Regions from separate parts of the Homo sapiens genome. Here regions 2, 3, 4 and 5 are each linked to region 1. Evidence: promoter capture Hi-C in 16 types of primary human blood cells and fetal thymus (Javierre and others, 2016). All regions are on one chromosome and are shown on one strand. The core of a region is centred on a gene start or on the middle of the fragment in contact, and the rest is flanking DNA. Distances in the headings are between cores, read along the strand shown. Region 1 holds the start of LARS1 (leucyl-tRNA synthetase 1). Region 2 holds the start of DIAPH1-AS1 (DIAPH1 antisense RNA 1). Region 3 holds the start of DIAPH1 (diaphanous related formin 1). Region 4 holds the start of TCOF1 (treacle ribosome biogenesis factor 1). Region 5 holds the start of CSNK1A1 (casein kinase 1 alpha 1).

Region 1 (5,085 bases), core at 1,030-3,529:
CAGGCTGGAGTACAGTGGTGTGATCTCGGCTCACTGAAACCTCTGCCTTCCGGGTTCAAGCAATTCTCCTGCCTCAGCCTCCTGAGTAGCTGAGACTACAGGCACATGCTGCTAAGCCCCGCTAATTTTTTTTTTTTTTTTTGTATTTCCAGTAGAGGTAGGATTTCACCGTGTTGCCCAGGCTGGTGTCGAACTCCTGAGCTCAGGCAATCCGCCCACTTAGGCCTCCCAAAGTGCTAGGATTACAGGCGTGAGCCACGGCGCCCGGCCATTTGTGTTTGTTGTTGTTGTTGTTGTTGTTTTTTGAGATGGAGTCTCACTCTGTCTCCCAGGCTGGAGTGTAATGGCATGATCTCAGCTCACTGCGACCTCTGCCTCCTGGGTTCGAGTGATTCTCCTGCCTCAGCCTCCCAAAATTCTGGGATTACAGGAATGAGCCACTGTGCCCGGCAAGAAATGAATTTTAAATTTTATTTATTTTTAATTAATTTGAATTTAAATTGCCACATGTGGCTAGTGGCTACTGTATCAGACACCATATATCTCTGTATGGTAGCATAGTCTTTTTTTTGTTTTGTTTTTGAGACGGAGTCTTGCTCTGTCGCCCAGGCTGGAGTGCAGTGCTGCCATCTTGGCTTACTGCAATTTCCACCTCCCGGGTTCAAGTGATTCTCCTGTCTCAGCTTCCCAGCAGCTGGTATTACAGGCGCGTGACACCACGCCTGGCTAATTTTTGTATTTTTAGTAGAGACGGGGTTTCACCATCTTGGCCAGCCTGGTCTCGAACCTCTGACCTCGTGATCCACCTGCCTCGGCCTCCCAAAGTGCTGGGATTACAGGTGTGAGACACCGTACCCGACCAGTCTTTTTTTTTCCCTTGAGATGAAGTCTCGCTCTGCCGCCCAAGATAGAGTGCAGTGGTGCGATCTCGACTCAGTGCACCCTCTGCCTCCTGGGTTCAAGCAATTTTCCTGCCTCAGCCTCCCGAGTAGCCGGGACTACAGGTGCACGCCACCATACCCAGCTAATTTTCGTATTTTTAGTAGAGACGGGGTTTCACCATGTTGGCCAGGCTGGTCTCAAACTCCTGACCTCAGGTCATCCGCCCACCTCGGCATCCCAAAATAATGGGATTATGGCCACCGCCCCTGGCCCTGTTTGGTAGTGGTCTAAATAGTCTGAGTCAGGCAATGGGACCAGGTAGGCTTTCAGTCTCTTGCTTAAAAATGGAGATTGTTGGCCGGGCACGGTGGCTCACGCCTGTAATCCCATCACTTTGGGAGGCTGGGGCGGGCGGATCACGAGTTCAGGAGATCGAGACCATCCTGGCCAATATGGTGAAACCCCGTTTCTACTGAAAATACAAAAATTAGCTGGGCGCGGTGGCGCGCGCCTGTAGTCCCAGCTACTAAGGAGGCTGGGGCAGAAGAATCGCTTGAACCCGGGAGGCGGAGGTTGCAGTGAGCCGAAACCGCGCCACTGCACTCCAGCCTGGAGACAGAACGAAACTCCCTCTCAAAAAAAAAAAAAAAAAAAAAAAAAAAAAAGGAGATTGTTGGCTAGGTACGGTAGCTCACGCCTGTAATCCTAGCACTTTGGGAGGCCGAGGGAGGCAGATCACGAGGTCAGGAAATCGGGATCATCCTGGCTAACAAGGTGAAACCCAGTCTCTACCAAAAATACAAAAAATTAGTCGGTGTGGTGGCGCGCGCCCATAGTCCCAGCTCCTCGGGAGCCTGAGGCAGGAGAATTGCTTGAATCCGGCAGGCCGAGGTTGCACTGAGCCAAGATCGCGCCACTGCACTCCAGCCTGGGCGACAGAGCGATACTGCGTCTCAAAAAAAAAAAAGGAGATTGTCAATACGCGGTTATACAATGTCTAAATGCTGGGCTGTTGAATGCCACTGACAGTAAAAAATATCTGTGCATAGTGGCAAGCCATAAGTAGCACCTCAGTCACCGTATAGTAATTAACTGCGTATCCTGGCATCCCGACAGGCAACCAGCTCTACCGGGTGAAAAGGTTGATGGCCAAGGGACTCCAACCTAACCAGGGCGCACTCGCGGCATTCTGCGATCCCGCACTGCATCATGGACTTTGTAGTTCAACATGCCAGTGACGTCACTGCCGGTTCCCCTCTGAGTGGGCCTATCGGGTAGACTTCCGATAACCCGTTTTTCTCTGGGAATTGTAGTCAGTTAGCGCCTGCTGGGTGTCTGCTCGGGTGGTCTGGGAACTACAATTCCCGGCGGGCTGTGAGATGCCTTGGCTGTAGTTAGTAAGGAGCCGGATGATTGCCTCAGCAGGTGTGAAGCGTGTGCTTTAGTTTCGTGGGAGGCCTGGCATCCCCGAGAGGGAGGGGAAAGGTAACCACTCCTTTGTGGAGGTCGCCAGGGTCATTGTCGTGGATTTGCACAGTCGGCTGGGCGGTGCAATGGCGGTGAGTTTGAGCGAGAAGAATCCGCAGGGGCCCTGGAGCCGGACTGGCCAGTCTCTAGGGGCTCTCCATGTGCTGTCCTGAAGGGAAAGTCCTTTTCTAAAAGAGAGCCACGCTTAAGGCGTGCCTTTCGTAGAGACTTTGCTTTTTCTTGCTAGTTTATGAACCACGAACTGATGTCTGTTAACTTTACGGAGTACTTGGATATCATATTTGTTATTTCTCTGGAGTTTCTAAAATCGAGGTGGAGAGCCGGGCACGGTGGCCCACGGCTGTAATCCCAGCACTTTGGGAGGCCGAGGCGGGTGGATCATTTGAGGTCAGGAGTTCGAGACCACCCTGGCCAACATGGTGAGACCCCGTTTCTACCAAAAATACATAAATTAGCCGGGCGTAGTGGTGCGCGCCTGTTAACCCAGCTACTCGGGAGGCTGAGGCAGGAGAATTGCTTGAACCCGGGAGAGGGAGGCTGCTGTGAGCCAGGATCGCGCCACTGCACTCCAGCCTGGGCGACAGAGTGAGACTCCGTCTTAAAAATAAAATAAATAAATAAACAAACAAATAAAGCCGAGGTGGAGAGAGGAGTATGTAAGTTGATTCCTACTTACAGCAAAAAAAAAAAAAAAAAAAAAAAAAAAAAAAGAAAAAATTGAGCGCCTCTCCGTAAAACAGACAAAAATCTCTCTTTTCATAGTGTTTATGTGTGTGGGTAAAATACATTGTAAAATATTGTGTCAGGTGCTGATAAATGCTGTGGGGAAAAAATAGAGCAGGAAGGGGTGCTAGGGAGTGTACGGTGGGGTAGTACAGTTGCAATTTTTAAAAATTTTTTTAAATTTGGGAGATGTTCTCACTCTGTGACCCAGACTGGAATGCAGTGGCGTGATCATGGCTCACTGCAGCCTGGACCTTAGGGCTCAAGCGATCCTCACACCTCAGCCTCCCCACAGCTGGTACTGCAAGCGTGCTCCATTACACCCTGCTAATTTTTTGTATTTTTAGTAGAGACAGGGTTTCGAACTCCTGGGGTCAAGCGATCCTTCTGTCTCAGCCTCCGAAAGTGCTGGGACTACAGGCATGAGCCATCCCGCCTGGTTTTATTTTTTTTTGTTTTTTGTTTGTTTGTTTGTTTTTTTCTTGAGACGGAGCCTTGCCCTGTCGCCAGGCTGGAGTGCAGCGGCGCGATCTCGGCTCACTGCAACCTCCTCCTCCCAGGTTCAAGCGGTTCCCCTGCCTCAACTTCCCGAGTAGCTGGGACTACAGGCGCGCGCCACCATGCCCAGTTAAATTTTTTGTATTTTAGTAGAGACAGGGTTTCACCACATTGGCCAGGATGGACTCAATTTCCTGACCTCGTGATCTGCCCGCCTCGGCCTCCCAAAGTGCTGGGATTACAGGCGTGAGCCATGGCGCCTGGCCTGTTGCAATTTTTAAAAGGATGATCAAGCAAGGCTTTGCCAAAAAGGTGGCAAAAACGAGGTAAGAGAGCAACCTATGCAACTATAGGAAGAAAGAGATTTCCAGGCAGGGGCAACAGTGTAAGTGAAAAGCAGGGATCCCGGGTAGAAGCCAGGGATGCTTCTAAACATCCTGCAGTGCACAGGACAACCCCTGAAAACAAAGAATTATTTGGCCCAAAGTGTAAGTAGTGCCAAAGTTTAGGAACTCTGATTTAGTTATATAGCCTTTTGTTACCAGTGAGGAGGTTGAGTCTCAGATTGATCAAATGACTTGCTCAAGGTTATACAACAAGTTGGTGTTTGGGCCAATATCAGATTTTATTATACTTGATCTTTGAGGTTTTGAGAAACAAGTTTTTCTGAGAAACAGAAAACTCAAATAAAAGCTTTCTTGCATTTGGCATACTCAGTACAATGAAAAGAAACACATAGTTCTAAGTAATTTGTAAAAGACTTGCTTTCATAGTCTTCTTTACAATGGGTGACATGATCATATTTTTTATTTTTATTTTTATTTTTTTTTTGAAATGGAGTCTCATTCTTTCCCAGGCTGGAGTGCAGTGGTGCCTCCCAAGTTCAAGTGATTCTCCCACTTCAGCTTCCTGTGTAGCTGGGACTACAGGTGTGCGCCACCATGCGCTGCTAATTTTTGTATTTTTTGGTATAGTTGTGGTTTCACCATGTTGGCCAGACTGGTCTTGAACGCCTGACCTCAAGTGATCCGCCCACCTTGGCCTCCCAGAGTGCTGGGATTACAGGTGTGAGCCAATGCACCTGGCCATATTTTTTATTTTTTGAGACAGGGACTCACTCTATCAACCAGGCTGCAGTGCAGTAGTGCAATCATAGCTCACTGCAGCCAGCCTTGATCTCCTGGGTTCAAGTGATCCTCTGGCCTCAGTGTTCCCATGTCCTGCTCATGGTAATTTTTAGGTAAAAGATATTTGTTACATAACTTCTGTGTCTGTGGCATTGTACTTTGTGCTAAGGTGACTATAAACAATTTAAAAGTTCCTGCCTGTTGAGAATTTACAGCCCAACTGCATAAATGTCTTAAGATCATTGGTTGCATTTAACAGAAGTCAACTCAAGTTGGTTAAGGAGGAATTTAGTAATAAAGTGGAAGTTGGCCAAAGGCGATGGCTCAAGCCTGTAATGTCAGCACTTTGGAAAGCCAAGGCTGGTGG
Region 2 (5,085 bases), core at 957-3,456, 4.6 Mb after region 1:
AATGCCTAATTGGTATTATCTTTGTTTTATAATTGAGAGATATAAAAGAGAATTAATATGTCCTTTGCTTGTTAAGATTTTATAGCAAGTAAACACCAAGCCAGAATTTGAGCCTAGATATATTGGGCTCAAATCCAGCACTTAGTGAAAGGGAGTGGCAAGAATGCAGGCATGTTGAGAGAAACCTCAGGTGCTTGCTTCCAGTGACTGACAGTGTAAAGTAACTGTGCTAGTGCTTCTTGATTTTTACCAGTGATTAGTGTCCTGATTTCTTCAACAAATAAATTTCAGGGGAAAAAATGAGATGGAGAGGAACATATAGATTAAGAGGGAATTTTAAATTTTATCAACCAGTACAGTATATGGAACTTATTTAGATCTTGATCCAAATGAACTATACAAAACACTTGACAGTTGAGACAGCTGGAAATTAGTGTGATAATGGTTTCATGGCATTTTTTAAAAAGTCATCATCTTTTAGAGATGTGTACAGAAATAATTGCGGATCATTATGGGATTTAGAAGTGGGGTGTAGATGAAACAGAATTGGTCACGAGTGGATAACTGTTGAAACTGAGTGATGTATGCATGGGGATTAATAATTGTGTTTTTGAATGTTTAATTTTTCCCATAATAAAACATTTTTTAATCCAGGAAAAGAGTTTTATTTCTAGTACCTTATTTTAATGCCTTTTCTTCTGCCCTCTAGCCTATTGTTTCCTTGCATAAACCTGTCCTCTTTGCTGACATACCTGAGTCCTTGTTTGGGATAGTGCCTGTCCTTCCAGTCCTTCCCCACCCACATCCTAGAAGCAGACCTCTTTTTAGCACTCCCTAATTGAGTCACCATCCTGGGTGTGCTGGGAAAGTATCTGTGGGAAACTCAATGACTATATTATCTGAAAGACCAAATGCTTGGTGAAGTGCCCAGATTTTTAATACTGCTTTTCTGCTACCCTTCCAGACTTATATCTGTCCCCTTCTTTATAACTCTCAGCATCTGGTTCTTCCTTTGGGATTCTGTGTGGCTTTGTTCTTGTCCTTTAGGTTTGTTCATTAATGCCAGTTTGCCCTGTCCCTCCTTACAGCTTGCACATCTGTAATGGTCTAGTTCTGTGGGATTTTGCAGATAGTTGTATATTTTGGCCAAGGTATCAGTGATACGGTTACCTTTGGGCAGGGATAACTGCTATTCGGTTGGCATGATATTTTTTCCTTCTATAATGTATACCTTAGTGATTGTTTTAAAGTGCTGAATTTATCCCTTATGTATATTACAACCATGAAGAATATAAATCAGAAGTCCTCCATTTGGGCAGCTTCTTATATTAACACTTATATTAACATTAAGACCCTCTTACTGTCTCCTCTTCCCAGAATTAGAGAGTTGATGTAGTGCTTAATAGACATGGCTTATTGTATGCTAGGTGAACTTGGCAATTCCATAGCTATGTTACCCTCACAGAAAGTTATTTCCTGGAGAGATTATTAAGTGTTCTGATCTTTCATATATGCCTGAGAGATCTAAGATTCTTCCACAAAGACCCTATTTCTTCAGAGAAAACTATAGTGATGCCAGAGTCTTTTTTTTTTTTTTTTTAACAACTTGTGATTTTTGTGCACCTGTGTTGTATGTGTTGCCATTATCTCACTTTAGGGACGTTGGATAAACTGGCGTATTTGTGCAGCCTCATTTAAGTAGTGGCAACCATTAATGACTTGTACCCACAAGTTTTTCCAGATAATTTCTGTTTTTTCCACCTTTCTTACATGTTCTTTTTTAGTCATAGGTACTTGGCTTACTCAAGGGAGGTGTAGCGTAAGATAAAGATAATGGAGGGTGTTCCCTGTAGAATAGGTACAAATGCTGCAGGCTTTATCTTGGGCAGAGCAAGTAGGGTTTTGGTCCTGAGTAAGTGAGTGAGGTTAGGTGGAGCTGCCTGTCTTCCAGCCGTGCGGATACAACTGACTCAGTCCGTGTTCTCAACAGTTTTTGAAAAGCCCATTTTTCTATCCCACTTACTCCCACCTGCAGTTCTTTAAGAACGTAGTTTCCAGGATGTCAGGCAACTCCCCACTCCTCCATTTCCTGTTTGTGGTCTTCATTGAGAGACGCCTTAAACAGGAATTCCTGGGGAAGTGCAGGCTATAGCGGTGGGATTCCGGGGGTCATTAGTCCATTATTGAAGCTGGGGAATCATGTACTATAAAAGGACCTCCCTTCCGTTCTGTTGTCTCCTAGAAACTATTACTGATCATAACCAAGCAGTAACTGCAACTCAGGGCTGTTGACTTGTGCCCTTTGTCTTTAGAGACTGAAAATTATTTTCCCTTCTTGTGCCTCAGTTTCTATTAGTTGAATTTTAGAGCTCAACATCAAGATTTGTGACAAAATTAACTTGGACTCTGTAGGACTGATTCGTTTGAAATGCAAAAGTAGTGAAGAACATAAAACAGACTCCCTATCTTGGCCGCCAGGGGGTGCCCTTTCCCTTCGCTTTACTGTCTGGCACTCCCCACCGCATTCAGCCATTTTAGACAGATTGTTTTTGCTCCCAGCTAACTCCATTTTGTATTTGTGACGCAGGAATAAAAAAAGGAGTTAGGCAAAGGAGGAGTCTGGTTTGCAGAGGGAGGGAGACTGGCTGAGGCGCAGCTACGTACTCTTTTACTCAGCAGTTGCTCATCAGGGACACACCTTGCTGCAGGCTGCCTGCATCCTGAGCAATCGATGCCGCAAGTCCTTGCCAGCGGAGCACAGAGCAAAATGGTTTGGCTGCCGGACACCTACTAACAGTGACAGAGTGCTAGCTTTTGAGGCAGCAGGCCAGGGCATCCCCTCTGCCTCATCTAGACTCTAATCCTGGGTTTAGGTGTTTTTGCTACAGAGATGTTTAGGGCAGTTTTCTTAATTATAGGATCAGATAAGAAAAGATACCCCCAAAAAAAGAAGAAAAAAAGGAACCCCTTTCACTTAGCTGTCTGGGAAGAATCAAATGCCCCAAGGACTCTAGGGAAATGGTCCTGAATTTTTTTAAAAAATGTTATTTTTGAAACCGTGAAAAAAATGCACGCACACATACACACATATATGTAAAGAGACTAGTATGAACACCCCTATGTCCATCACCCATTTAAAAAACTTAATCAACAGCTAGTCTTGTTTCATATACCTGTATCAACTTTGTCTTTGCCACCCATTATTTTTACATGTATCCTTGTTCATATTATTTAATCCTTAAGCAGTTCAGAATGTGTGTCAAAAAAATTAGGACTTTTAAAAGAAGATAATTACTACCATTATCACATTTAAAAAATTCTTTATCATCAGATAGCCAGTTAGTATTAAATTTCCCAAATTATCTTATGATAGTTGTTTTTTTTAATAGTTCATTTGAATCAGAGCCAAATAAAGTCTACACATTGCAGTTGGTTGATGTCTCTATAGGTTCTCTCTTATGCTCTTTTTTATTTTTTATTTTGCAATTTATTTATAGACTTAATTTCTTTTAAAAAGATCTCTGCCAGGCGCGGTGACTCACGCCTGTAATCCCAGCACTTTGGGAGGCCGAGGCGGGCGGATCACGTGAGGTTGGGAGTTTGAGACCAGCCTGGCCAATATGGCGAAACCTCGTCTCTACTAAAAATACAAAAATTAGCCGGGCCGCCTGGTGGCGCATGCCTGTAATTCCAGCTACTCGGGAGGCTGAGGCAGGAGAATTGCTTGAACCCGGGAGGCGGAGGTTGTGGTGAGCCAAGATTGCACCACTGCACTCAAGCCTGGGTGACAGAGTGAGACTCCATTTCAAAAAATAAATAAATAAATAAATAAAAAGAAGATCTCTCAGGTTGGGACTGAGAAGATACAAAGCCAGACTTCCCTTCTTGCCAGAGCAGAGCCTCTTCTTTAGGATTTCCCACAGAGGCTATTGGTGACCAAGTGAAGGAGCAATGCCCTGCCACCTTCAGAGGGAGAAAGGGCTGGACTCTTACTTTTCTCCTGACGTGATAATCTGTTACCCAAAGTCTTGAGAAAAGTTTGCACACTGCCGTCAACGGAGAACATGGTCATAGAAGTGGGCCTCACCCGTTCTAAGAATTAAAGGAGAGCTTTTAAGCTTTGGGACAACTGTGTTTGGCCACTGTGTAATAGCTGCATCCCTATGGTGATTCTAGAGTATCAGCTTTTTTTTTCCCGAATACTTTTTTTACTTAAGTAGCAGCTTTCTCCCTGGTAAGACTCAATGAATTAACAGCACTTCATGGACTTTTACAGAAAGAAAAAATATAATACTGTGTTGGGGCCGGGGGGGATGTGGTGAAAAGTCCTTTATGGCTTCAGGATTATAATATCGCTAGTCCTTCCCTTGACCTTTTTGGAGATACTCCCTGAGACTGACTTAGATGCAAATGATCAGATGAAAGTTCTTGCTTAATATTCTTCTCCCACTTCTGAAATGGGTCAGTGACTCTGACTTTCAGCAGCCACAGCAAGCAGTCTATTCCCTTGCCCAAGGGAAGGGCACAGGTGATAGAAGGGAATTAGCAGGGTCTGGCTTCTTGGCAAGGCTGGCAGGACACTCGTAGAGTCTGGTCTGTGGAGACTAGATTGGCCCCATGTCTAGTTTGGAAACTATAGTTCCCACTAGCAAAAGGTTTAGAATCTGCTGAATAGGTCAGGATTGCAGCAGCTAGAAATACGGATCCTGGCACGGCCACTTTTTAACCACATAGCTAGGTGTAAGGGTCTCTCTTTTCTACTATTGTTTGTTGAGAGTCACAGCCTTTGCAGAAAAAATTTTCCTCTTTTCCTTTGTGCTAAGGTGCTATCTATACCCACCTATTTTGGTCCCTTATTTCACACAATTCTGTAAACTGAAATTACTCAGCCCTTGATGTTGTTTTTAGGGTGAGGGACAGCATGAGGCCTTTGTTCTGGACTTCTCATCTTTGCTCTTATGAAAATGGGGGCTGGAACCCAAGCATTGATAAGGTTGTATATTAGGTGCTTTAGTATCTGGATGATTAATTAGTGCACCATTCCTGTAAGAAGGCTGGGAAGGCAGCAAATGGGAGCATTCTATG
Region 3 (5,085 bases), core at 1,698-4,197, 4.6 Mb after region 1:
TCAGACTTTAGGTCTTATGTCCCAATAGTCCTGTCTGAAATTTCACCCTTTTCCTCTCATCACCTTCAGTCCTATCACTTCATTTTATTAATTGTACTCTCCATCATCTGAAATTATTATATTTATTTACTTTGTTAGTTACTAGTCTCATTTATTAGGTAAGCTTTTTGAGGATAGACAACCTTGTCCAGCTTGTTACTCTACTGTATTGCTAAGGTTTATGACAGTGTCTGTATAGAGTAGTTCCTTAATGTTTATTTGATACGTGAATGGGTGAATGAATAGCAGTCTCTACCAACAAGAGGAGGAGTGGTTCTCAACGGGGCCTGAGAAATGGCTTTGGAAAAGGGTGCTGGGAGAAGATTAGAACTTAGAGTGAGATCCTGACCTCTCTCCCCTTGCTTTGCAGGCCAGAGGCACCCAATGAGTTCTATGATGGAGACCATGACAATGACAAGGAAAGCGATGTGGAGATTTAAGAGTGGCTTGGGATGCTGTGTCCCAAGGAATTTCTTTTCACCTCTTGGTTGGGCTGGAGGGAAAAGGAGTGGCTCCTAGAGTCCTGGGGGTCACCCCAGGGCTTTTGCTGACTCTGGGAAAGAGTCTGGAGACCACATTTGGTTCTCGAACCATCTACCTGCTTTTCCTCTCTCTCCCAAGGCCTGACAATGGTACCTATTAGGGATGAGATACAGACAAGGATAGCTATCTGGGACATTATTGGCAGTGGGCCCTGGAGGCCAGTCCCTAGCCCCCCTTGCCCCTTATTTCTTCCCTGCTTCCCTCGAACCCAGAGATTTTTGAGGGATGAACGGGTAGACAAGGACTGAGATTGCCTCTGACTTCCTCCTCCCCTGGGTTCTGACTTCTTCCTCCCCTTGCTTCCAGGGAAGATGAAGAGAGAGAGATTTGGAAGGGGCTCTGGCTCCCTAACACCTGAATCCCAGATGATGGGAAGTATGTTTTCAAGTGTGGGGAGGATATGAAAATGTTCTGTTCTCACTTTTGGCTTTATGTCCATTTTACCACTGTTTTTATCCAATAAACTAAGTCGGTATTTTTTGTACCTTTCGCCTTTCTAGGAATGTTAATTCTTGCTAGTTTCCTATTTATGAAAGGAGAGGGAAATGGGCATGATGATGCATGTAATAAAAGCATAGTTAACATTCATTCAGCACTTATCCTACGTTAGGCCCTGTGTATGTATTCTACATTTATTATTGTAAATATAAGAAGTTAATAGAGGATTTTGGTTAAGAGTTAGACAAACCTGGGCAGATTTGAGAGGAGTAGAAGATGACTTCAGGTTTTTGAATCTGGGTGTTTAGAGTAGTGATGCTAGTTGGTGAAGATACACTGAGATAAAACATGTTAAGTGCTTAGCACAGTGCCTGACAGAAGAAGTTGCCCATTATCTGTCTATGTGAAGAACAATGCTAAATACTGTAGTAGCCACAAACATGAACCTTTCTCTAGAAGAGTTTACATTCCAGTCAGTAGTATGATAAATATTGTAGCAGATACAGACTGATACAAGAAAGAGGACTGATAGATGGGTCACTTCCTCCCCTCCATTCTCTGATTCTGTCTGTTCTCAACACTAGCTTAGAAAGTAGCTTTTGGACTTTTTAGACAAAATGTCTGGAAAGCTCAGCACTAAGTCAAGTTTGAAGTATGGGATGGACAGCTCTATGTAACATTCTATCCGATCACCATCAGAAGGTCTGGACCACAAGAGAGATGAATGCCAAATTTAGGAGCCAGCCAGCTTGGCAGAGTCCCTGGTATATCTCAGGCCCTTGACTAGGTACTGGGGCTCTAGAGTAAGTAAGTCACTGACTCTGCCCTTCAGGAACTTATGCTTGAAATCTTGCTAGCTGTGGTCAAGAATATTCAGTCCATATTGTGAAGGCCGACTGGTAGCCACGTAACTGTCACACAAGGGACAGATGTAGCTGGGAGAATGGATGAAATTGCTTAGGGAGAAAGTCATGCTAGAAGAGCAAAGAATATACTCTTGGAGAATACTCATTCTTTTCACTCATGTTTGGTTTATGTCAGTGGGGAATCCTGGTTAAACATAGGGTTTGGCAGCAAATCAGACTAAGCTGGGTTTAAATTTTATATCAATTATGCGTTCTTGGGCAAGTCACTTCAACTCTCAAAAGTCCAAATTTACTATTTATAAAATGGTGAGGCTAGCAGAATCTATCACATGGGACTGTGGGGACTTAGAAAAATACATGTAGAGTGTTTGCCTAGTGCCTAGCAGAGAGCAAAGGGCATGGTTAAGTGGTAACTGTTATTGCTGTTTAGGCACATGTTGGCAATAATTAGTTTGTCCTGATTAGAAACAATTAGATGGTACCTAACCTGGAATTCGAACTAGGAAATTAAACTCCAGAGCGAGTCTGGTTTAGTCTAGTGCTTGCCCTGGACCGAGCTCTGTTCTTGCTACCTTGCTTTCAAAACATGGTGGCTATCACTATAATTTTTTTCATGTGTTCCATGGGTATTGCACACATTGAAAACTGCATTCTCTTGGAAAACCTGTCACTAATTTTCTGCCAGGATAATGGTCTCACGCGATTTTTGGTCTGGGATGTGAGAGGGTCCAGGCTGTCAGGCTGTACAGCCACGTGGGCGCTGCGTGGGAGCCAGAGGCCTGCGCTGCTCCAACCGCCAGGGGGCGGTGCTCTCCGCCGCGGCCGCGGAGAGCTGCACCGCCCACTCACCACCCCCCCCCACGTGGGTCCGAATGGTTAGGTCCGCTGGGCAGGTAGCGCGCTTCCGCGGCTTCCCTCCGCCCCTCTCCCTTCCCCCATTGGTAGGGGCTGCGGGTCCGGGCGGAAGTGGGGCAGGCGGGCGGGAGCGAGGCGTCGTCGTTGTATATTCATGAGGCGCGCGCAGCCCGGCATGCTAATGAGGCGGGGCGCGGCGGCTGGCTAAAGAGCGACTGGGCGGCGGCGGGCGCGGAGCTGCCAGGCGGGAGCGGCGTAGGCGCGGGGTCGCCGGCCAGCGTGAACCGGGACATGGAGCCGCCCGGCGGGAGCCTGGGGCCCGGCCGCGGGACCCGGGACAAGAAGAAGGGCCGGAGCCCAGATGAGCTGCCCTCGGCGGGCGGCGACGGCGGCAAATCTAAGAAATTTGTGAGTGTCCCTCCCATCCCGCTCCTGCCTGGCCCCGTAACCGCCCTCTGGACCCCTGCAGCCGGCCCCTGGGGCGCCTGCCCGGCTTTGGGGAGCCGCCCCCGCGCCTTCCTTCCTCGTTTCGCTCGGTCCGCAGCTCTGCAGCCCGACATCCTCTCCCTTCGGGACCTCGGGAAGCCCCGGAATCCCACCCGGCTCTTGCCCCGGCCACCTCGGGGCTTCCCTCGTTCCCCAGCCCTTACATTCTGCCCTCCCGCCCGCATATCCCCGGCCGGCTCTCAGCCCCGTCTCTCCCCTCTCAGCCTCACTTCCTTTCTTCTTCCTCCAGTACCCGAACACGCCTCCTCTTTTTTGGTCCCCTCTTCTGGGTCCATTTTCTCTTCTTAACCTTACACCTTTTTTGGTATTCTCGTATTTCCTTCTCCTAAAGGTCACTTCCTTCTCCATGATTCATCCTTTTTACCTGCTAACTTTCCTCCCGCCCAGTCCCCCGTGGGCCCTCCGCCCGGTGTCACTTGATAATCCTTCCCCTGAGGAATGTTACCTGACTTGAGCCCTACCCCCAACTCCTTCTTTGGACGTTTGTCCTTGCGATTACAGGAATGGGCTCCTGCCCAGGTCCTATGGTCACTGGGGCATGACGTTTATTTGTTTACCAGTATTCCTCTCTCCAGAGAACCTCTCTCTTTGCCCTGTTGCTTATCACTTTTCAGAGGATTAGAACTCTCATGATTGTGCCCTTCTTGACCTAGGATGGTGATAAACCTCTCCTGTGGGAAGAAAGTTGGACTGCGAGTTCAAGAAGTTTGTAATTGAATTGTTTTTTATACATTTCCCATGATAACCGTCTCCTCTACTCCTTTTCTACTGCCTCTTGTGCCCCAAGGCGACTATCGGCTTCCCTTTGCGTGCCTGTAGAAGAGTAAGCTTTCCTCAAGTGCCAGTTACTTTCAATCCGAGTGAAGGAATAGTGATATACATGTAACCCTATCATATTTCATTACCTTTTGCCCACACCAACGCCTCTCTCCAGGGAGCCGTTTGGTTGCTTTTTTGCTATAAAAGCTTTGTAAGATACGGGGCACTGTCCAGGAGAGGAAAAGTCTTGGATATTGATGATCATTATAATAGCTAGTTATAACTGTAGCTCTTTTGTCTTCTCTTCCAGGTATTTATGCCCTTACACTAGTGTATCTTTCTACTAAACAAATGGCTTGTAACTCTTAGTCCCACCTCCCAACATTTTGACCCAGCTCCACAAATTTGGGAAGAAAACTGATAAAGCGATGGAAACAGGAAGAAAATGTTGTTTTATGACCTAGAGGGTTGAGATGTTAACCCTGGAGGGTTAGATGTTTAATTCTAAATAGAATTAAAATAGTGACTCATCTCTTCCTATTTCTAGCAAGACCAAGTGCTCCTGGACTGCCCTTTCCAGTGATATCTGAGATGTCAGTAACCATCTGTTTTTATCTGGTGAACATCTTTTTTTCCCCCCCTAGAAATATAAGGTTAAGGGTATTGACACCCCCTCCTTCTTTGGTGACTAAAGCAGCATTTTTGTATGTTTCTTTAGGATAAGAATTGACCCCTCCCCCCCGTTAGCTTTCCTTCCAAAACTTAAGTTCTAGGGCTCATATTCCTTCTATTTCTGTATCTTTTTGTTTTGATTTTATTTCCATGAGTACTGTTTGACCTTCCTCACCCAAATTCCAGCTATTGCTGCTGACTTGTGGTGACCTCAGTGACTTGTTTTCATGTCTTGAGTAGAATTTTATATGTACTCTATTTTATCTAACAATTATTTCACGAACTTGTGAAGTCTACTATGTGTGTGGTACTGTAAGGTGAGAAACCTGAGGAAGCTCAACCCCTTTTCACCTGTCTTTTGGAATGTCCATGAAGTCTTCTATATGTTTAATGGATTTGGCTCAGG
Region 4 (5,085 bases), core at 1,249-3,748, 4.2 Mb before region 1:
TTCTTAACATGGGGACAACAGCGATACCTACCTTGCAGGCTGCTATCTGGTTTGAACAAGACCATCTGTCAGTGCCCAGCAGTGAGCCGGTAACACTAAGATTTCAAGAGTCAGTTTCCCTCTGCTCCACCTCAGGCAAAGTGTCCTCCTTGCTGTCCTCAAATGTGTCAGGCCACCCTGCCTCTAACGCGGCCTTGCTATTCTTCTTGTCTGGAATGTTCTCTCCCCTGTTAACTACACAGCTCACTCCCTCATTTCCTTCAGGTCTCTGCCCAAATGACACCTTCTCAATGAGACTTCCTTGACTACCCTACTTATAATCGAAGTCTGACATCCCTTATCCCCCTTGCCTGCCTTTTATAGCAAGCACCAACTATCATTGGATATACTATATCATTAACTTATTAAACTTTTTCTATTTGTCACCTGTCTGCTCCTACTAGAATGTGTGCTCCATGACGGCAGGATATTTTGCTCCAATGAAGATGGGTACTATCTCTTGCTCCCCTTATCTGTGAAGTACCATAGCTGCGGTAGGAAGAGCAAGTGAGGTTCAGAGAAACTGGGAAAAGCATACATAACGTCTTAGGGCCCATCACCCTTTAGTCCCTCCAGGAGGTTCTGAGAGCAAGCATTAGGAGCAGAGCCTACACCACAGGGCAAAGGGATCTGACTACTTAGGATACTGTCTCACCAGTTCAAAACTCTCCATTGGTTTACCACTGCTCTTCCAAGGAAGATCAAACTGCCCACCAGACCACTCCAGCCAGCCCCTGCCTCCATCTCCCCAGGGGCATCTGGCCCTTGTACTTCACACTTCAGCCACTATGGACGTTTTTTTTTTTTTTGAGATGGAGTCTCGCCTTGTCACCCAGGATGGAGTGCAGTGGCTCAGTCTCAGCTCAGTGCAACCTCTGCCTCCTGGGTTCAAGTGATTCTCCTGACTCAGCCTCCCGAGTAACTGGGACTACAGGTGCATGCCACCATGCATGGCTAATTTTTGCATTTTTAGTAGAGACAGGGTTTCACCATGTCGGTCAGGCTGGTTTTGAACTCCTGGCCTCAAGTGATCCGCCTGCCTCGGCCTCCCAAAGTGCTGGGATTACAGGCGTGAGCTACCGTACCTGGCCTGCTATGGACTTAAAAAAAATTTTTTTTTGAGACAGTGTCTTGCTCTGTTGCCCAGGCTGGAGTGCAGTGGCATGATCATGGCTCATACTGTATCCTCAAATTCCTGGGCTCAAGAGAGTGGACTTTCTCCAGGCCAGTGTGTACACAAGTTCCCTCCCACCACAAGGCATTTACACCTCAGCTATTCCTGACCAGGGCAATCTGCCATCCATCTCTCTTTTTTTTTTGAGGCAGAGTCTCGCTTTATCGCCCAGGCTGGAGTGCAGTGGCACGATCTTGACTCATTGCAACCTCTGCCTCCCGGGTTCAAGCAATTCTTGTGCCTCAGCCACATGAGTAGCCAGGATTACAGGCGTGCGCCAACATGCCCAGCTAATTTTTGTATTTTTAGTAGAAACGGTGTTTCACCATGTTGGCCAGGCTGGTCTCGAACTTCTGACCTCAGGTGATCCGCTAGTCTCGGCCTCCCTAAGTGCTGGGATTACAGGCGTGAGCTACCGTGCCCGGCCCATCCCTCTCATTCTTAACACTTATTGCGGTGCTAAGCATATAGTCACTTTTGTGATTCTTTGATTTGTCTACCTTACTAGAGTGTAAGCTCCAGGAGGGCTGAGAGATGGTGCTCACCATTCGAACACCAGGAAGCACCCTGAGTACCGGATTAACAGTTGAATTAATCAAGTAAGAAATGACTGTACCACGAGTTCGAGTACCAAAGCTGACCGTCTCAGTACAGACAATCGCTAAAGGCCTGAGTTCCAGCTCAACTAAGAGGCTGTAGGGTCCCTTTTCCAGGCGCTCCCCCGAGGGGCTGGTCGCAATCCACCCCCGAGACTCGCAGCAACCTCCTTGCCCCAGGGGGGGCCGCGCAGAGCCTAGCCACGTGGCGGGAGACTTAGGAAACTTAAAATACCCGCTACCAGGAAGGGCGTGGAGGTAAGGGAAGCGGGAATTACAAAGTTCGGCCCCTGCGAGCACACTTTCTGGCCCAACCCACTGCCCGGATGAGGAAAGTGAGGCCCAGGGGAACTGAAGTCGCAGTGGGAAGGCAGAGATTGCGGCTCCTCCGGTACCCCTGGCCGCGCCGTCGAGCACTGCGGGACCCGGCTCCGGGCGCCTGCCGGGTCGCCTGGGGACGGGGCGCGGGCCGCGGGCCGCTGATCTCCACATCTTGCACGCGGCCCTCGCACACGGCCCACGAACGCTTACCTGGCCGCTCTGCTCCTTCACTTCCCGCGCCGCACGCACATAGCCAGCCCGCAGCAGATGGTGGTAGATCAGGGGAAGTAGCTCCCGCCGCTTCCTGGCCTCGGCCATACCCGCGACCCCCGGCCGGCCGGCTACCTGCACGCCCCGCCTTAGTCCCCGCCCGCCACTTCCCTCGCGCCCTTAGACCTCGCGCGCCACACTTCCGGCTCCTCTTTCGCTCCGGCCGCGCGGCGCGCCGGGAAACGTAGTCCCCTCTCCGGGAGTGGCCGGCCCCGCCCCTCAAGGCGAAGGGGGCGGAGACTCGTGATCAACAATACCGCCCATTGGCGCGGAGCATGCGGGGCTAGACAGGGACCCGCCCCCGGGGCCGGCCGGGACTTGGACGACTCTCTTTTAATCCTTCCGGCTGGCTTCTTGAAGAGATTTATCTTCCTTGTTAATTCTCTGATGGCTGGGTCTGCGTTTTACTCATCTCTGAACTCCCTAATCTGGATCTTTCTCTAGATCCGAACTTTGTACTGCCATTACCTGCTCATTTATCCATTTCGCACGGTTTTTGGTGCCCATGAACCAGACACGAATTGCCAGTTTATTCATTGATTCATTCGCTAACTGAACAAATCTGTAATAAGCACCTAACTTGGGCTAGCACCCGGCTAGGCTAGGGGGATTCAAAAGATGCATAATACATGGCAGTTGCCCTCAAAGCTCACAGAGACGACTGTCCGTAACCAAGCAACTATAGTTCAATATCTTGTGTGCCTTGTCAGGGACAGATGCAGCCTATGGGCGCCCCAAGGAGGAGCACCGAACCCCAGAGAGATATCTAAGCTGAGGCATAAAGACACCCGAAATTGCTGGGTGCAAAGGAGAGGACTGGCAGAGGGCACTGCATGAGTCTAGGCATGAGAAAACACCCTGCTATTGCCTGGGAACCCTAAACCCAGAACCCCTAGTCTGCGCTGCTGGGCTGTCCAGGTGGGGTGGGGTGAGGTGGGGAAGAGGGAACAAATGAGGGCACATGAGGATGAAGAAGTAGACAAGGCCTACAACTCCCCCACCCCCAACAGAGTTTGGACTTTGCTCTGAGGGCATTAGATAGTCTCTGACTGGCTTTTCCGAGGAGGTTGACCCTGTTTTGTGTTTTTAAAAGATTGCTAAAACCAAAGCACATACCATTAATACTAAATGTGAGGCTGTTGTAGTTGTTGAGGGAAGGATGGCAGGGAAAAGGTGAGGTAGGCTGGAGAATGTTAGAGTGAGCTGTTCTTAACTTCACCGACCCATTGAGAATCTGAGGGCAGCATGTTTCTTACGGGCGCAGGAGTCCCTAACCCTAGGAGGTCCAGGTATGTGGTTATCTTTGTCTTGAACTTGAATGGAAAATGTTATGTGTCTGTACACATTCAACATTTCCCATTTTCTTGAGCAAATATTTATTGAGTACCTACCATTGGGGATGGAATAGTCTCTACTCCTATAGAGCTTACAGTCTAGTGATGGAATTGTCTCTACTCCAATAGAGCTTACAGTCTAACGGAGGAGACACATACTAAACTAATAGTCATACAATACAGTGTTACAAACAGCGGGTAAGTGCAGGAAGGAAAAGGATAGTGTTTTCTTATGTAATAATATAGTGTTTAAAAGCTGCACTGGAGTCACACTGCCTGGGTTCAAATTCTGGCTTTGCCTCATTAACTAGGTGACTTTGGGCAAGTCACTGTGACTCAGTTTCTTTATCTGTACAATGGAGATAATTATAATTTCTACCTCACTGGGTTGTCATAAGGAGTAAATGAATTCTCAGCAGAAATGCTTAGAGGAGCTCTGAACAATAGCGCTCTCTGTGTGCGTGTGTGCTATTATTGTGAAAGCATATAACAGGAAGGAGGGATCTATTTTTTTCTTGGGAGTTAGGGAAGGATTCCCTGAGAAATTAATGGTTATGAGGAAACCAGAACTGTGTGTAAGGGAGAGTCAGAGAGAAGAAACCTGAGCAGAGGGAAGAACCTGTGCAAAGGGCCTAGGGCAGAAGGTACAGCTGAGAGAATAGACACAAAAAGGCCTTTGTAGCATAGTCCGGAGGGAGAGCAGGGGGACTGGGGAGTGTAGAAGGTGGGCAGAGGGCAGACTCCATGTGAAGGATTGGCCACATCAGGGTTTTTTTTCCTCCATCCTAAGAGCCATTGGAAGCCACTGACGGTGTAAGCCCAAGAGGTACAGGATGAAATCTGAATTTTACTGTGACCTGTGTGCCTGCCCAGTGGAGAGTGGAGTGTGTCTGGTGGGTATGAGTAGATGTGGGAAGACAAGTCAGGGTTAGGAGTGCAGGCAGGCATCCAGGGAGAAGACAGTGTATGTGGGGGGGGGGGGCGGGTGGTAGGTGGCGGGGGCAGCGGGGAGGGTGCTGGTGGCAGTGGAGTTGAAGAGAGTGGAAGGTTCCCAGAGTTAATCAGGAACTAAAGTTTTCACAGAGGTGTGTTGGAATGGGAGGGGAAGGAAAAGGCAATGTCAGAATGGACCTTGAGGTTTCTGTGCAAACAAGTAGGCAGTATTTTTCACTGAGATAGAAAAAACTAGAAGAGGACTGAGACAGGGGGGTGGTTTGATTGAGGAGAGGAGGATGTGGACAGAGAGGTGAAAGTATATATTCTATGTTAGACATCTTGAGCTTGAAATGCCTTACAGTCACCACATGCAGATGTTGAGAAGGTTCTTGGAAACCTGGGTTTGGACGTGGCG
Region 5 (5,085 bases), core at 1,000-3,499, 3.4 Mb before region 1:
GCACCTGTCCATACACAGATCTTTGGGAATCACTAATTTAGACCACTTCATGCCCACCCTTACCCTGCCCCCGGCTTCATTGAGCATTTTTATCACAATACCAAAATATCCGTCTAAATGTATACCTCATCCCCTTATGGAGAACTCCTCAAGCTGAGGAATCCATTAAACTTTGGATGTGTGTGAGAAAATTAGCAGAAAAGGAGTGATCTCTGGAAAACTCAAGATGCTTAAACTTGGCTTTTTTTTTTTTAAGACCAGAATTGATTAATTAATTAATTTTTTAGATGGAGTGGAGTCTCGCTCTGTCTCCAGGCTGGAGTGCAGTGGCACGATCTCGGCTCACTGTAACCTCTGCCTCCCAGGTTCAAGCGATTCTCCTGCCTCAGCCTCCCTAGTAGCTGGAGCTACAAGGCACATGCTACCATGCCCAGCTAAGTTTTGTATTTTTAGTAGAGACAGGGTTTCACCACGTTGGCCAGAATGGTCTCGAACTCCCGACCTCAGGTGATCCAGCCGCCTCGGCCTCCCAAAGTGCTGGGATTACAGGTGTGAGCCCACCATGCCCGGCTGCATTTTATATCAGAATTTAACAGCAGATTTTAACTTAGTCAAAACATGCTTTAGAGTCACCAAAGGAGAATGATGTCTAACAGTGCTGATTTGGGAGTTGGGCACCCTGAGTGTTGGTTGGGCTTTAAAAACTTCATGCTAAACTTCAGGGGAAGTCTCCTCCCCTCTCTCTTCAGTTGTCTTCCGAGATGAACCCTATTACTAATTACTTGACCACCTTTCAAAGTTGCAGTTAAAATTCTTCACATTTTTCTCCCATTTCTATTTAATTAATTATTTTTTTTTTGAGACAGGGTCTCTCTGTTGCCCAGGCTGGAGTACAGTGGCGTGATCTAGTCTCACCGCAACCTCCGCCTCCCGGGTTCAAGCGATTCTCAGACTCCCGAATAGCTGGGGTTACAAGTGTGCGCCATCACACCCGGCTAATTTTTGTATTTTTAGTAGATACGGGGTTTCATCATGTTGGCCAGGCTGGTCTCGAACAACTGACCTCAAGTGATCTGCCCGCCCCGGCCTCCCGAAGTGCTGGGATTACAGGCGTGAGCCACTGCGCCCGCCCCCCATTTCTATTTTAATTAAATTTTATTTAGGATAGGCTTAGCTTAAATTTTTACGACTGAGGTCTGACTTAAGATGATAGCATCAACCATGGAGTTTTCTTTCGTGAACATTATTATTACTAAGCCCAATTTTCCCAGGTCAAATTTTGTAAAACAAAACGTGGTCAAAATTTGATTCTCTGATCGATTTTTTGTAAAAAAGAAAAAAATTACCGTGTAGTTTTAAATGTTGTCAATTAAATTTTGTAATAGTTACCTCTACTCTGTTCAGGTTAATACTGAGGTTTTCAACAAGACCAACATACGATTCTTTTTTTTTTTTTTTTTTTTTTTTTTGGTGGGGTTGAGGGGACATAACAGTTTTTTCACTCTTGTTAAATTAATTTTCTGTTGATTCCATCTATCCTTAATCTTCATTATGAGCAACATACCAGGTTTTCTTCTGAAGATCATATGTGGTAGTGAGGCAATAATGCAAAGACATAGGATGGCAGGGGGATTCCGGCTTCTTTCTTTCTTCCCCTCCTGTGGAAAGAGGGTCTATAACACTCCGTAGTAGATAGGACAATTCTAATTATGAAGGGTAATTAGCTAGGCTCTGCTACAACCGAGAGCCCTGAGAGATTCCTCGACGCTGGCTGCTTTTCTCTTCCTCTCCACCAGAGGCGACAGCCTCTTTCCAAACAGAAACTGGGTTGGAATAGGCCGGTCCGGGGGAACGGCCAGAAGAAAGATCAAAGGTTAAAAACCGCCTCAAAGAGCACAGGTCAATACCCAACTCCTAAGGAGGCCTTAAGCTTTCATCTGCCACGAAACATGAAGGTGACTCCTCCCAATATCAAGGCCGGGGGGCCACTCAGCCTTCCAGAGACCCGGCGGGTCCGAGGCGAGTAACAGGTAACACCTGCTGAGCCGCCGCCGACCGGAAGTGGAAGAGAGCCCGGGACGGGGGTGAGGACAGGCCGCGGCACGCCTGCGCAGTCAGCAGGAGTTGCAGCGCTCATGCGCAGCTGGGCGGTGACAGGGTGACGCTCGGAGCGTGGGCCGCGACTCTCACGGATCCGGTTCCGCCCTCTCGCTGCCGATCCTTCGGAGCGAGCGCCCGAGATCCCTTTCCCAGAGTGCTCTGCGCCGTGAAGAAGCGGCTCCCGGGGACTGGGGGCATTTTGTGTTGGCTGGAGCTGGAGTAACAAGATGGCGTCGTCCGCGGAGTGACAGGGGTCCCTCTGGGCCGGAGCCGGCGGCAGTGGTGGCAGCGGTATCGCCGCCCTAGCTCACCGCGCCCCTTTTCCAGCCCGCGACGTCGCCGCGCAAGCGAGGCAGCGGCGGCCGCCGAGAAACAAGTGGCCCAGCCTGGTAACCGCCGAGAAGCCCTTCACAAACTGCGGCCTGGCAAAAAGAAACCTGACTGAGCGGCGGTGATCAGGTTCCCCTCTGCTGATTCTGGGCCCCGAACCCCGGTAAAGGCCTCCGTGTTCCGTTTCCTGCCGCCCTCCTCCGTAGCCTTGCCTAGTGTAGGAGCCCCGAGGCCTCCGTCCTCTTCCCAGAGGTGTCGGGGCTTGGCCCCAGCCTCCATCTTCGTCTCTCAGGATGGCGAGTAGCAGCGGCTCCAAGGCTGAATTCATTGTCGGAGGGAAATATAAACTGGTACGGAAGATCGGGTCTGGCTCCTTCGGGGACATCTATTTGGCGATCAACATCACCAACGGCGAGGTAATCATCTGGGGTGGGGTTCACGATAACGCTGCGCTTTTACTCATTCCCCCCACCACCACCGTGCACCCCCAAAGTGCTCGGGCCTCTCCTCATCGCACGCACTCGCCAGGGAGTCCAGGGAGCTAGTTTTCCTGGCTTACGAACCTCGTCCGCTGTCTCCCTAAAAGGGTCAAGAACCCGATAGAAAGGTTGGGGGAACTAGTTTCCCACCTTGTTAAACACGTCCCATAAATGTCCCTTAGTCGAGCTTTTTTTTTTTTTAACCGTCTTTTAAGGTGGAAACGGCAAAATCCTCTTTCAGTGATTCCCATGTTTTTTTTTTTTTAATTCTTAATTCTACTGGGCCTCTTGTTCCAATTAGAACAGTTTCCGATCGCCTAGTTCCTTAAAAACCTCTCACTACGTTCAGAGGTTGCCTCTTTTTTCTGGATGAATCATTTTCCTGCACTTTAGAGGACGTACGGATTTCGTCACTACCCCCTGAAGAGGCCTTTGAGGCTGGTTGCCTCGTTTTATAATTACCGAGAGCTTTCTCTTTCCAGCTTTTCACTTCTTCTTGTAGTCGCGACTTGGAGTTTTGCTAATGTCTCCCTCCTTTCCTAAGTGACATTGAATCCGTAGGGATGTTGATGCCATCATCCCCTCTTTCCCCTGCAGGAAGTGGCAGTGAAGCTAGAATCTCAGAAGGCCAGGCATCCCCAGTTGCTGTACGAGAGCAAGCTCTATAAGATTCTTCAAGGTGGGGTTGGCATCCCCCACATACGGTAAGAACCCGGTGCATATAGGCGATCCGCTGAGGGAAGCACGGAATGGGGAAGTGGGTAGAGGCAGGTAATGAGACCAGCTGAATCCGGGTCTTGGTGTTTTAGTTACCTGGGTTCCCTATAGCTGGTGGTTTCCTGTAAGTCAGTCATCTCAATTACTGAGTAAATTTCAGTTTGCCAACTTATTTCATTGTATTACACTGCTCCATTTCGCTTCCGTCATTCTCACTCTTCCCGAGGCTTTCATTTGCAGTTATGCGTGCAGGTCATCTTTGATCCCTACGCGGAAGGGTTGGCTGCTGCCTTTTTTACGGCGGCACTTCTGATGTACTTAGGTTTGTCCAGTGAAGTGGATTTGAAGGTGCCGAAGCGACCCGGCAGTGTCAGTTCGAGTTGCTATTGGAGCTGGCTTGGGAAATGGCTGCTCTTTTGTTGTGTTTTTGTTCCAACATGTCTTCCTCCTCCGCTTAGAAAATGGCGGAACGACGTGACTCAACCCCATATTCCTGCCCTTTTCTCAGCTTGAGTTCACAAATTATGCTTCCTTGATTCCTCCTTTAGCAGCCCCGAGTGGATTAAACCTTTGAAAAGCCAAGAATAAAGCTGCAGGAGGCGGTGTGGAGGTTCGAGGAAGGAGATGGCATAGTGACAGTGTTTGTGATCTCTGCAGCAGATGTGACACGAAATTGTTGAATTACACTATGTAAAATCCTTCGTAGTTCTTTTAAAAGTGTTAATTACTCTTTCTTTTCGTGAATGGTCATATTTGGCACGTTTCAGTCGGGACTAAATTTGTATAGGTAGTGGCAAAGGCAGTTTGAGCAGCACCAACTATGTTAAAATTTACTCATATCAGTTGTATTTAAAAAAATCTTAATCACTTAGCCACACTTTGATAAGTAATTTTAACCTGTTGAGTTTGTCAGTAAATCTTCACATCAGAGAAATTGGGGCCTTTGTTGGTGTGGAATATTGGTGAGTGCAAATAGCAGTAACGAGGATAAAAGATGACGAGATAGACATTGTTCTGTCAAATGGTTAACTTTACTTTGGAGGGTTTTAATGTTTTAACTTTTGGGATTAAAGATCCTCTTCATGGAATGGAGACTAAAATATAGTTTAAAGCCCAGCTATTTTCCAGCAATAATCTAAAATAACATTTGCAAAATTATTCAGAATAGGTAAGAATGGTACTTACTGTTTACTGGAGCCTCTTCTTTAAGACGGAGTTTTCGCTCTTGTGGTCCAGGCTGGAGTGCAATGAATGGCACGATCTTGGCTCACTGCAACCTCTGCCTCCCGGGTTCAAGTGATTCTCGTGCCTCAGCCTCCTGAGTAGCTGGGATTACAGGCGCCCGCCACCACGCCTAGCTAATTTTTGTATTTTAGTTTCACCACGTTGGCCAGGCTGGGCTCGAACTCCTGACCTCAGGTGATCTGCCTGCCTCGGCCTCCCAAAGTGCTGGGATTAC

Evidence for each region. Contacts are between HindIII fragments. The CHiCAGO score rates a contact against its expected background, and 5 or more counts as called.
Region 2: the fragment with the promoter of DIAPH1-AS1 here is called in contact with the fragment with the promoter of LARS1 in region 1 in 1 of 17 cell types (total CD8 T cells); the score reaches 7.0 in total CD8 T cells.
Region 3: the fragment with the promoter of DIAPH1 here is called in contact with the fragment with the promoter of LARS1 in region 1 in 2 of 17 cell types (total B cells and activated CD4 T cells); the score reaches 6.7 in total B cells.
Region 4: a contact is called between the fragment with the promoter of TCOF1 here and the fragment with the promoter of LARS1 in region 1, in 1 of 17 cell types (naive CD8 T cells). The highest score is 5.2, in naive CD8 T cells.
Region 5: a contact is called between the fragment with the promoter of CSNK1A1 here and the fragment with the promoter of LARS1 in region 1, in 1 of 17 cell types (naive CD8 T cells). The highest score is 6.2, in naive CD8 T cells.

What each region holds. Positions count from the first base shown.
Region 1 is chr5:146,179,844-146,184,928 of GRCh38, reverse strand. LARS1 (leucyl-tRNA synthetase 1) reads left to right here and starts at 2,279. Exons shown (of 32, transcript NM_020117.11): 1 at 2,279-2,441. The coding sequence starts at 2,436. RefSeq lists enhancers at 841-1,687, 2,596-2,755. The HindIII fragment of the contact is 6,101 bases long and covers 1-4,286 here.
Region 2 is chr5:141,555,432-141,560,516 of GRCh38, reverse strand. It overlaps DIAPH1-AS1 (DIAPH1 antisense RNA 1), which reads right to left and starts at 2,206. Exons shown (of 3, transcript NR_038333.1): 1 at 2,030-2,206. The region is part of intron 18 of DIAPH1 (diaphanous related formin 1); the gene reads left to right. RefSeq lists enhancers at 2,321-2,615, 2,376-3,228. The HindIII fragment of the contact is 6,603 bases long and covers 1-4,120 here.
Region 3 is chr5:141,616,862-141,621,946 of GRCh38, reverse strand. It overlaps DIAPH1 (diaphanous related formin 1), which reads left to right and starts at 2,947. Exons shown (of 28, transcript NM_005219.5): 1 at 2,947-3,149. The coding sequence starts at 3,033. HDAC3 (histone deacetylase 3) reads left to right here. Exons shown (of 15, transcript NM_003883.4): 15 at 410-1,066. The coding sequence ends at 479. RefSeq lists silencers at 2,593-3,252, 3,313-3,362, 3,173-3,369. The HindIII fragment of the contact is 3,913 bases long and covers 166-4,078 here.
Region 4 is chr5:150,355,110-150,360,194 of GRCh38, reverse strand. It overlaps TCOF1 (treacle ribosome biogenesis factor 1), which reads right to left and starts at 2,498. Exons shown (of 27, transcript NM_001371623.1): 1 at 2,341-2,498. The coding sequence starts at 2,448. LOC105378226 (a long non-coding RNA gene) reads left to right here and starts at 2,775. Exons shown (of 4, transcript XR_944407.3): 1 at 2,775-3,689; 2 at 4,525-4,627; 3 at 5,032-5,085. RefSeq lists silencers at 2,071-2,290, 2,371-2,710 and an enhancer at 3,311-3,480. The HindIII fragment of the contact is 5,465 bases long and covers 1-5,085 here.
Region 5 is chr5:149,548,603-149,553,687 of GRCh38, reverse strand. It overlaps CSNK1A1 (casein kinase 1 alpha 1), which reads left to right and starts at 2,249. Exons shown (of 10, transcript NM_001892.6): 1 at 2,249-2,846; 2 at 3,507-3,613. The coding sequence starts at 2,724. It also overlaps a transcript of ARHGEF37 not described here. RefSeq lists enhancers at 1,672-1,741, 1,299-2,092, 1,792-2,461, 2,492-2,551, 2,682-2,741 and 3 more. The HindIII fragment of the contact is 4,606 bases long and covers 1,933-5,085 here.